Regions from separate parts of the Homo sapiens genome. Here regions 1 and 3 are each linked to region 2. Evidence: promoter capture Hi-C in human tissues and cell types (Jung and others, 2019). All regions are on one chromosome and are shown on one strand. Each heading gives the region's core, a stretch centred on a gene start or on the middle of the fragment in contact. The rest is flanking DNA. Distances are from core to core; before and after follow the strand shown.

Region 1 (3,603 bases), core at 1-2,500, 1.2 Mb after region 2:
CCTCAGCCTCCCAAAGTGTTGGGATTACAGGCGTGAGCCACCGTGCCCGAGCACTTTTTTTTTTTTTTTTTTGAGATGGAGTCTCACTCGTCGCCCAGGCTGGAGTGCACTGGCACAATCTCGGCTCACTGCAAACTCCGCCTCCTGGGTTCCCTTCATTCTCCTGCCTCAGCTTCCCGAGTAGCTGGGACTACAGGCACCCGCCGCCATGCCCGGCTAATTTTTTGTATTTTTAGTAGAGACGGGGTTTCACCGTGTTAGCCAGGATGGTCTCGATCTCCTGACCTCGTGATCCGCCCGCCTTGGCCTCCCAAAGTGCTGGGATTACAGGCGTGAGCCACCGCGCCTGGCCGCCCGAGCACTTTTACTTTTCCTTAGTTATATTCCTCTAATTGTTTTCTCTTCTCTAGTTGTAGATAATGAGCATTTTATTAATACCTTGTTCTTGATCTTAATGGGAAGGTATGTAGTTTTTCCCTGTTAAGTAAAATCCTGACTTTTGGACCAAGAAGACTGAGGCATAAGAGTTTATGTGTGTGCGTGTGTGTGTGCACGTGCATGTGCGTGTGTGTGTATATACACAAACTATATATGTGCTTGTGTGTAATTGAAATACATATGTCACATATATATCATACGTACTACTGCATATTAGGGTGTAATATTTATATTTGTATATATACATAATATTGATGTTAATGAAGCATCCATCAGTTTCTGTTTTCTTTAGTTTGTTTTTTTAAATCAGGTTTTTCTGTCAAGCTTTTTCAAGTATCTTCATGGATACAAGATTTTTCTTCTTTGCTGTGTTATAGTGGCCTATCATATTAATAGGTTTCCAAATATTAAACTAGTCTATATTATTGGAATAAGTCCTATTTGTCTGTTGTATATTATGTTTTTAATCTGGTACTGGATTTTGTTTGGTTATGTTTCATTTTGGGTATTTGTATTGATATAAGTGGTATTGTATTGGCATGTAATTTTATGTTATTTATTGGCTGATCCATCTTCTAACCCCTCCACCTCCTTGCCTTCTGGACTAACTTAACCTAGAAGGTTATTACTCTCTCTCGGTGATTTTATCAGCTCCTGTGGCCTGCCTGTGGATAAGCTTGGATGTTCTGCTTTAGTTTCTCAGCCCACCAGCCTAGCGGCTCTGCCTCTGCTATCTCTTGGGATCTACATTGTCCTAGCTATATCACTGGGTTTGAACCCCTTGTTGATATCTTCTTTATAAATAACAGGATAATGCAACATGCTTACTGGGCACTTCCTTTTTCTAAACTACAAGTTTGGGCAGGGTATGCTGGCCCAAGACTGTAATCCCAACACTTTGGGAGGCCAAGGCAGGTGGATTGCTGGAGCCCAGGAGTTTTGCATTTTTCTTTTTTTTTTCTTGAGACAAGGTCTCGCTCTGTTGCCTAGGATGGAGTGCAGTGTCGCATTTACAGCTCACTGCAGCCTTGACCTCCCAGGCTCAAGCCATCCTCCTGCCTTAGCCTCCCAGGTAGCTGGAACTACAGGCATGTGCCATGATGCCCAGCCAATTTTTAAAAAAAATTTTATTTTTAGTAGAGATGAGGTTCTTACTATGTTGCCCAACGTGGCCTCGAACTCCTGAGCTCAAATGATCCTCCCATCTCGGCCTCCCAAAGTGCTAGGACTATAGGCATGAGCCACCATGCCCAGCCCCAACCTCTTAAAAATTGAAGCTGCTTCATGTTTGCCATTGGTACTTTTTACACCTCATCATATTCTTCTTCCCCTTCATCCCATAGAATACACAATTCATCTTTAAGGACTTCAAGTTAACTGAGTCTGTGAAGCCTAACTGATGGCATAAAGTTAAAATAATTTGATCCTCTTTTGTTAAATCATTCTGCACCTTGTCTGCATTACTCTAATAACAGCTTTGGGCATTCATTCATTTAATGAATATTTATTGCTGTGAGATTGAGATGTTTGAGATAAAACTCAGCCATGCAGATAGCCAGAGGCCACTGGCTATGAGAATAAAAAAGACAAAAGAACAAGGAGCTGAAACTAGGTGAGAGCCCCAGAGCAGTGAGTTAGGAAGAAGAAGACCAGGAACTGAGTGGTGGGCACTCCAACATGAAGAGGTCCAGGAGAAGGGGAGGGCCTGGCAGCAAAGAAGTGACAAGGAGTAAAATGCTTGTGTTTGTTTACATGTTTATCTCCTTATTAGGTTGTCTGCTTTCTCAGAGCAGGCATGGTGTTTCACTCATCTCATGTCCCCAAAACTCAGTTCAGTTGCAAAATAGGAGCTCAGTTGTGTTTTGGGTTTTTATTTTTGTGGGGTAATATATATTTTATATATATATATCCCCAAAGGATATATGTTTCCTGTATGATTTCCAATATGATTTCCCTTCCATAATCTGTAACATAAAATAAGGTATACAATGTTCATGGTTAACTTTACGAGTGAGCTTTGTAAAATGATATCCCCCTATCCCTTTTCCATATCTCCCAATTCTGATCATGTTGCCATTACAGGGGCCAGTGTCATTCAAAGATGTGGCTGTGGATTTCACCCAGGAGGAGTGGCAGCAACTGGACCCTGATGAGAAGATAGCATACGGGGATGTGATGTTGGAGAACTACAGCCATCTAGTTTCTGTGGGTGAGGATAGCTTGCTTTCTGAATGCTCTCAGTTGAATGGGGTTTTATCCTTGAGTTTGAAGAAATAAGTGATGACACCATTTAATTCCTTGTGGGCACTAGCTGGAGCGTTTATATTATTCTTCATTGAAAGGTTCTAACTTTGATAAGGTAAAAAATGGAGCACTTCTGTTATGCAGCTTATGAGGTGGCAACATCTTGTACTTTGGAGATTCTGAAGCCAAGCAGCTTGCCCAAGTCCTTCTTCTTTTCCCATTAACAGGGTATGATTATCACCAAGCCAAACATCATCATGGAGTGGAGGTGAAGGAAGTGGAGCAGGGAGAGGAGCCGTGGATAATGGAAGGTGAATTTCCATGTCAACATAGTCCAGGTAAGTTAGTAGATTATCACATGTTAAAAAACACTCATCCCCGACCTTTGGGAGTGACTAAAGAGTTGTTTATATGTACTCGGTACCCTCAGTAACACCTCCCAACCCCCAAATATCACTTTCCTTCCCACACACATACCACATACATGAACTCTTTTGTTGATTTTACATTTGATTTACATTGGTAGGGATTTTTTCATTCTAACCTGTACTGGGGACCCAGTCACTTCCTCTTTCTCCAGCATTATCGCTCACTTATTTACTCCCTCGCCATTAGAGAATTGTTGTGAGTTTTTTGTTTGTTTGTTTGTTTGTTTGTTTTTTGGAGACAGAGTCTTGTTCTATCACCCAGGCTGGTGTGCACTGGTATGTTCTCGCTCACTGCAACCACTATCTCTCAGGTTCAAGCGATTCTCCTTCCTCAGCCTCCTGAGTAGCTGGGATTACAGGCACATGTCACCACGCCTGGCTAATTTTTGTATTTTTAATAGAGACTGGGTTTCACCATGTTGGCCATGCTGGTCTTGAACTTCTGGCCTCAAGTGATCTGCCCACCTCAGCCTTCCAAAGTGCTGAGATTACA
Region 2 (3,384 bases), core at 162-2,661:
ATTGAGGAAGCGCTTCCCCGTGCCCACCTCAGGGTACTGCTCCGCCAGCCCCCACTCGGGCCAGCAGAAGCTCTCTGCAGAGAAGAGCAGGCGGCTGCCACTCTGGACGAACTTCTTCAGCAGCTCTGTGGGGCTGCCGGCCAGAATCACGTCGTAGCTGGGTGAGGAAGGGGAGGATGGGCAGGGGTCCACTGGGAACCTCAGCATCCTTACCCCGCTCCCTATCCCCAGCCCCGTTACCTATCCACAAACATGATGATCATATCCTCCCGGTCAGCGTATTTCTCCATTTCCTTCTTTAACCACCGGACCTTCTGTCCTCCACCAACTGTTCGAGCCACATCACCCCCTCGCCACTCCTCTCCCAGGCCCAGGGTCTGTGGAGAAGATTGCCCCGTGCCAGGCAAGGGGTGGGGAGTTGTGGGGGGAACTCCTGACCAGGCTTACCGTGGGGACCTGGGCATCCAGACTTCAGCCCACCCCTCCTGCTGGGACCCCCTCCCAGGGGCCTTTCCCTCTCCTCACCCGCACAGTGTAGTTGAAGAACTCCGCAGAGCGCAGGAAACGCAGGTACCCCTCGGTTTCAGCTGTGGCCACAGTGATCACCAGCAGCTTCTCTGTTACCAGAGGGAAATGGCACTTGAGATCCACCGCCCAGCTCCGGGCCTCACGTGCTTTGCTGTCCTCCCTCTCACTCGACTTCCCTCCCTTTCTTCCTTCCCATTCTTAAACTCTTCTCACCCAGGAACACTCTGACCCCAAGGAGGGCAGGGTGGGAGTGGTGCCCAGGAATTCCGAGTCCCTTTGCATAGGGAGGCTGGAAACCCCAGTTCAGGGTAGTGATGGGCGAGGGGCTTGGCGCGACTCAGCCTCAAGAGCACGCTGGGCGGGGGACGGGCCAGACACCTCCTCGAGCCTCCGACCCTCTCCGGGCCAGGCTGGCAGGCACGCCAGCCTCTGCCCCCTCGGCCGTGCCGGGCCTCCCCGGGATCTCACCTGGGTTGACCGGGTCTCGGCCCCGGGGCCGGTCGGAGGCTGAGGCCGCAGGGGGCAGCAGCAGCGGCAGCAGCAGCAGGAACCGGGGTCCAGGCCCCGAGGAGGTCATGGTGGGGAGCGGGCCCAGACAGCACCCAGGATCCTGGGATCTCCGCTACGCGCCTGGATCCCAGCTCCGGAGGGGAGCTCTGGAAAGGGGGCGCTCGGGCTGCTGTGCGGCCGCCGCGGGGAGCAGCTTGGCTGGGGCTACGCCCTGAAAAAAAGGCGTATCCGGAGGCTACAGAAAGCTCCAGATGCCGGCGCCACAGACAAGGCGAGGATTGTCCCGGGCGCACGGGAGGCGGGGGAGGGGCGGCGGCTCGGGCCGGCGGGCGGGAGACAGGGACTCTGGGCTGAGCCAGCCGCTTGACACATGTGGAAGCTGAAACCTGGACAGGGGAAGTGACCCCTGGCGGAGGGTCGGGCGGGACGCGGGGGCGGGTCCTGGCCGCAGCCCTGCCCAGAGAGTGCGGGCGGAAGACGGGGAGAGCGAGAGGCTGGCGGCGACAGGGAGGGAGGAAGCCTAGGAGTCCGCCGCGGGACGGAGGCCTGGGGGAACTGGGAGTTCAGCTTTCTGCAGAGGGCCACTAGGAACCTCGGATTGCCCACGGAAGCCAGCCACTTTCTTTGACAGTCCAGCCCACCTCCTCTTCTGCCCGGAGAAGCTCCAGGGGCTGCCTTTGTGATCACAGCATCTTCACAAGGACCAAAGGAAAATAAGATTTCTTGTAAGAACACCGTGACCACATCTTTAAAATGACCCATTTCGTGGCTCCCACAAGATTTACACCTCCACACTGAGGCCGGAAGTGGTTTTGCCCCTATAAAACATGGCGAAAAGCTTTCTTGTCTCCAAGGAAACGCCACGTAATGAGTCAAAGCTGTGGCGCACGCGCAGAAGTACAAGCTACCGGAAGTGATGGCGCCCCTACTAAAGCCTTGGGGTTAGTACGCGTGCGCAGCAGTTTCTTCCGACAGTTGTGTTGTGCCAATGGTGGAGAAGAAAACTTCGGGTATGTGAGCCCCCGCGGTTCGCCCCCTTCCCCTTCCCAAGTCAGTCCTAGAATTTTCTTACCTAGTCATTCCTCTTTTTTGGTCTCGCTCTTTCGCCTAGGCTGGAGTGCAGTGGCATAGTCATAGCTCACTGCAGCCTCGATTTCCTGGGATCAAACCATCCTCCCACCTCAGCCTCCGGAGTGGCTGGAACTGCAAGCATGAGGCCCCACGCCTGGTTAATTTTTAATTTGTTATGTGGTGACGGGCTCTCGCTATGTTGCCCAGGTTGGTCTCCAACTCTTGGCCTCAAAGCGATCCTCCTGCGTGGGCCTTCCAAAGTGCTGGGATTACAGGCGTGAGCTGCCGCGCCCGGCCCCAGCTATTCCTCGTAAATCCCTTCCTCAGCCCTCGGGTCCTGGCGTTGACCCTTCATTCACGTTTTATTGGTGCCTGCTCCAAGCCGGGCGCTGGGGATGAAGAGGAGAAAGACCCCTCTTATCCAAGCATTGGCTTTTTCTGGAAGGGGGGCAGAAACGCAGACCTAACACTGTATTTTACTGTGATTTGTGATTTGTGCTATGGCAGAGGGAAGCACAGCGCCTGGGAACAGGGAGACGTGGCATCTAGCCCAGGTTCTGGGAGGCAGGGGACTGTGAAAGCTTGAAGGAAAAATGAAAAAGCTTGAATTGAGTCTTGAAAGTCTAGTTAGGGTTTCTCTCAGTGGGAACCTCACGTGCAAAGGCAGTGAAGCAAGAAAAAGCAAGTCGCTTAGGAAGCCAAGTTCACAGTTTGGATCTTACAGAGTAATAAGAAAGGATCGAAGGCTGGGGAAAGGTTACATTTTGAAAGGCATTATACACACTGCCCAGGAGTTTGAACTCTGTAGGGAAACACTGGAGAGCCAGCAAAGACTTTTTTTTTTTAGACAGAGTCTTGCTCTGTCACCCAGGCTGGAATGCAGTGGTTCTATATAACTCACTGCAGCCTCAACCTCCCATGCTCAAGTGATTCTTCCACCTCAGCCACCTGAGTAGGTGGAACTACAGGTGGGTGCAGGCCACCATGCTGGGCTAGTTTTTATATTTTTTGTTGAGATGGGTGTCTCACTATGTTGCCCAGGCTGGTCTTGAACTCCTGAGCTCATGTGATCCTCCTGCCTCGGCCTTCCAAAATGCTAGGATTACAAGTATGAGCCACTGCGCTTGGCCCTTTTAGTTTTTCTTTCTTTCTTTTTTTTTCTTTTTGAGACGGAGTCTTGCTCTGTCCCCCAGGCTGGAGTGCAGTGGCGCAATCTCGGTTCACTGCAAGCTCTGCCTCCCGGGTTCACACCATTCTCTGGCCTCAGCTTCTGGA
Region 3 (3,357 bases), core at 750-3,249, 1.2 Mb after region 2:
TATCAACCACTACTCAAAGAATTGAGATAGGAGTACCCACTCGTCTAGGGTAATCAACCATCCTGGCTTGCCCAAGATTCTCCTGGTTTTAGCACTGAAGGTCCCACTTTCTGGGAAACCCTTCAGTCCTAGGATCAAACTAGGACAAGTGTGGTCACCTATTTTTTTTTTTTTTTTTCAGACAGAGTCTCTCTCTGTCTCCCAGGCTGGAGTGCAGAGGTGCGATTTTGGCTCAGTACAGCCTCCGCCTCCTGGGCTCAAGCAATTCTCCTGCCTCAGCCTCCCGAGTAGGTGGGATTACAGGCAGCTCCCCCCACCCCACACGCCCGGCTAATTTTTTTTGTATTTTTAGTAGAGACGGAGTTTCACCATGTTGGCCAGGCTGGTCTCGAACTCCTGACCTCAGATCATCCACCTGCCTCAGCCTCCCAAAGTGCTGGTATTACAGGCGTGAGCCATGTTATTGAATGTCAGGCTCTGCTGGACACTGCATGTCCAAACGTCATTTTACCCATGTGCCAGCGACAAGGTAGATTCGCTTGTACCAATTTTGCACATAAGGAAACAGCCTTAGAGAGGTTAGGTTGCTTGTGCAAGCCCAGGGTAGGTGGCACCCAGTCTGCCAGTCTGCAACGCACTGGTATCTTCCAGCCAGTAGACCTTGCTCCCTGGGTGCCCAGTTCTGGATCTCAGGAAAGGTGGATTAAGGCTCCTAGTGGCGGGACCTGGGTGGGGATTTGCTGCCCTCTGGTGGCAGAAGGGACATCACCCTGGGTGTGAGACTTGTGGGCATCTGTGAGGCGGCCTTTCATCCCAGGGAGCCGGACCTCAAATCTGACCTCAGCCCCAGGAAGGTGCCACCAGGAAGGTGCCACCTAGGAGGGTGCCACCAGGGTTCCCGCCAGGGTCTGCTGGGGCCCTGTCCCATCTGTGTGAGTCACATAATCACTCAGGCTGTCACAGACCCAGGGCTAGACTGCTGGGTTTGAGTCTGTGTGGCCCTGAGCCAATTGCTTTCTCCTCTGGGCCTCAGTTCCATTTCAGTAGAATCAGGATGATAGCCTGGGCAACATAGCAAGACTCCAGCTCTACCAAATAAATAAATAAATAAATAAATAAATAAATAAATAAATAAAATATTAGGCTGGGCAAGGTGGCTCACGCCTGTAATCCCAGCACTTTGGGAAGCTGAGGCGGGTGGATCACCTGAGATCAGGAGTTCGGGGCCAGCCTGGCCAACATGACGAAACCCTGTCTCTACTAAAAATACAAAAATTAGCCGGGCATGGTGGCGGGTGCCTGTAATCCCAGCTACTCAGGAGGCTGAGGCAGGAGAATCGCTGGAACCTGGGAGGCAGAGGTTGCAGTGAGCCGAGATCGCGCCATTGCACTCCAGCCTGGGTGACAAGAGAGAAACTCCCTCTCAAAAAATAAAAATAAAAAGTTAGCTGAGTGTGGTGGCACCAGCCTGTTGTCATAGCTACTCAGGAGTCCAAGGCTGAAGAATTGCTTGAGGTCAGCCTGGGAAACATAGCAATACCCCATGTCTACAAAAAATGTGAAAAATTAGCTGGGCATAGTGGTACCTGCCTGTAGCCCTAGCTTTTCTGGACACTGAGTCAGGAGGATCCCTTGAGCCCAGGAGTTCGAGGCTGCAGTTAGCTATACTGGCACCACCGCACTCCAGCCTGGTGACAGAGTGAGACCCCGTCTATTGAAAAACATATATCTGCTGATAAATATGTCCACAATTTAGACCAGACTTAGACACTGAAGTTATTACCAGCTCCTTCACACCCACATGCCTTAACTCTCTCTTGCCTTCATGCATTCCTTCACTCCATTCATTCGCTTAACTTTCATCCAGCAGATATCTGCCAAGCACCAGCTCTGTGACAGACACTGAGGCTGGGGGTGCCAGGGAGACCTTTACCAACCGGACAGACACTGCCCCGCACTCCTGGCTCTGTGGCTTTCTGATAGTCCGTGGCCTCACATGTTCATTTATTAAGTGTCCTTTTATTGATTGAGTCTTCATTCTTTCTCTTAATGTCCTTATTCATTCATTCATCCATCACTTGCTCATCTCACTGACACGTCTATTCAGTCTTCATATATGTTTTCATTCCTTTATTCTCCAAGCATCCTGGAAGTACCCACTCTACACCATGCCAGGGTTAGATGCTGGGATTCTGGCCCAGCCCACCACACTGCCAAGCCCATGGGGACACAGATGGTGAGGACATAGTGGTAACTACTTCACCAGTTATTGGGATTCAGAGCTGGGAGAGCACCAAGAAGGGAGCAATTCACTTCCTGGAAGTGAGGGGTGGGAGAGGCAATCTGAGAAGGCTTCTTGGAGGAGGTAGCATTTTGGCCAAGTTGAGAAGCCTGTATGGGAGTTCTCCAAGGAGGAAAAGATGCTTTGTTTTGTAGACAAAAACCTTCGTTCTGTGGAGTGTTTGGAGAAAAGTGAGGTACTGGTTGCTAATGTGTGTGATCCTGGGTGAGTTTGTGTGCATGGCCCCAGCCAGGCCAAGCCCTCCCCAGGTTCCAGTGACAGACCTGGGCCACTAAGGACCCTTAATTCCACCCTGAGCTCCTAGAAAACCACCCACTATTGGGCAGCCAGGAATGACCTTTGGAGAACAAACACTTCACCCTCCAGGTACCATCCACTTGTCCACCTGTTCATCCTCTTGGGGACTCAGTGGGAGGGCGACCCTGTCCCTAGGAGCCCATGTCCCTCCAGCAAATGTTTCTTTTATTTTTATTTTTATTTATTTATTTATTTTGAGACAGAGTCTTGCTCTGTCGCCCAGGCTGGAGTGCAAAGGCGTAATCTTAGCTCACTGCAACCTCTGCCTCCCAGGTTCAAGCAATTCTCCAGCCTCAGCCTCCCGAGTAGCTGGGATTACAGGTGTGCACCACCACGCCTGGCTATTTTTTGTATTTCTAGTAGAGACGGGGTTTCACCATGTTGGCCAGGCTGGTCTCAAACTCCTGACCTCAGGTGATCTGCCCACCTCGGCCTCCCAAAGTGCTGGGATTACAGGCATGAGCCACCACACCAGGTTTTTGTGGTCACGGAATGGTCTTGTGTGATGTTGGTGTCCTGGAAATTACTTTTGTTTGACAAGAGAACACCAAGACCCAGCTGTGAATGTCTGTCCAGCTCCCAGGGAAACAGAACAGGAACTGGACAGAGCTTCTCCTTCACATCCTTTCCCTTTTTCCTTCTTTTGTCCCACTGATCACAAAACCCACACCATTGCCTCGCTGACAATATAGCTGCTAACCCCGAGGCTTTAGTCATACAAAGAAAATAAAGAACGAAACTGTCTCAAAAAAAAAAAA

Evidence for each region. The method cuts DNA at HindIII sites, captures the fragments that hold promoters and counts their contacts. A contact is called where the count stands out against the background at its distance.
Region 1: a contact is called between a fragment that was not itself captured here and the fragment with the promoter of PLOD3 in region 2, in 1 of the 25 tissues and cell types used here (dorsolateral prefrontal cortex).
Region 3: a fragment that was not itself captured here is called in contact with the fragment with the promoter of PLOD3 in region 2 in 1 of the 25 tissues and cell types used here (dorsolateral prefrontal cortex).

Annotation. Positions count from the first base shown.
Region 1 is chr7:102,373,303-102,376,905 of GRCh38, forward strand. LOC100630923 (LOC100289561-PRKRIP1 readthrough) reads left to right here. Exons shown (of 9, transcript NR_038967.1): 3 at 2,521-2,647; 4 at 2,910-3,020. It also overlaps the pseudogene LOC100289561. Among named protein-coding and RNA genes, the nearest start is that of SPDYE6, 19 kb to the left of the region's middle. The HindIII fragment of the contact is 5,084 bases long and covers 1-3,603 here.
Region 2 is chr7:101,216,170-101,219,553 of GRCh38, forward strand. It overlaps PLOD3 (procollagen-lysine,2-oxoglutarate 5-dioxygenase 3), which reads right to left and starts at 1,412. Exons shown (of 19, transcript NM_001084.5): 1 at 997-1,412; 2 at 526-617; 3 at 241-377; 4 at 1-157. The coding sequence starts at 1,105. It overlaps ZNHIT1 (zinc finger HIT-type containing 1), which reads left to right and starts at 1,996. Exons shown (of 5, transcript NM_006349.3): 1 at 1,996-2,048. The coding sequence starts at 2,027. RefSeq lists enhancers at 518-1,040, 1,589-1,708, 1,802-2,343 and silencers at 839-958, 1,019-1,068, 1,209-1,488. The HindIII fragment of the contact is 7,144 bases long and covers 1-2,283 here.
Region 3 is chr7:102,390,174-102,393,530 of GRCh38, forward strand. All of the region lies in intron 4 of LOC100630923 (LOC100289561-PRKRIP1 readthrough), which reads left to right. Among named protein-coding and RNA genes, the nearest start is that of PRKRIP1, 4.5 kb to the right of the region's middle. The HindIII fragment of the contact is 6,252 bases long and covers 1-3,357 here.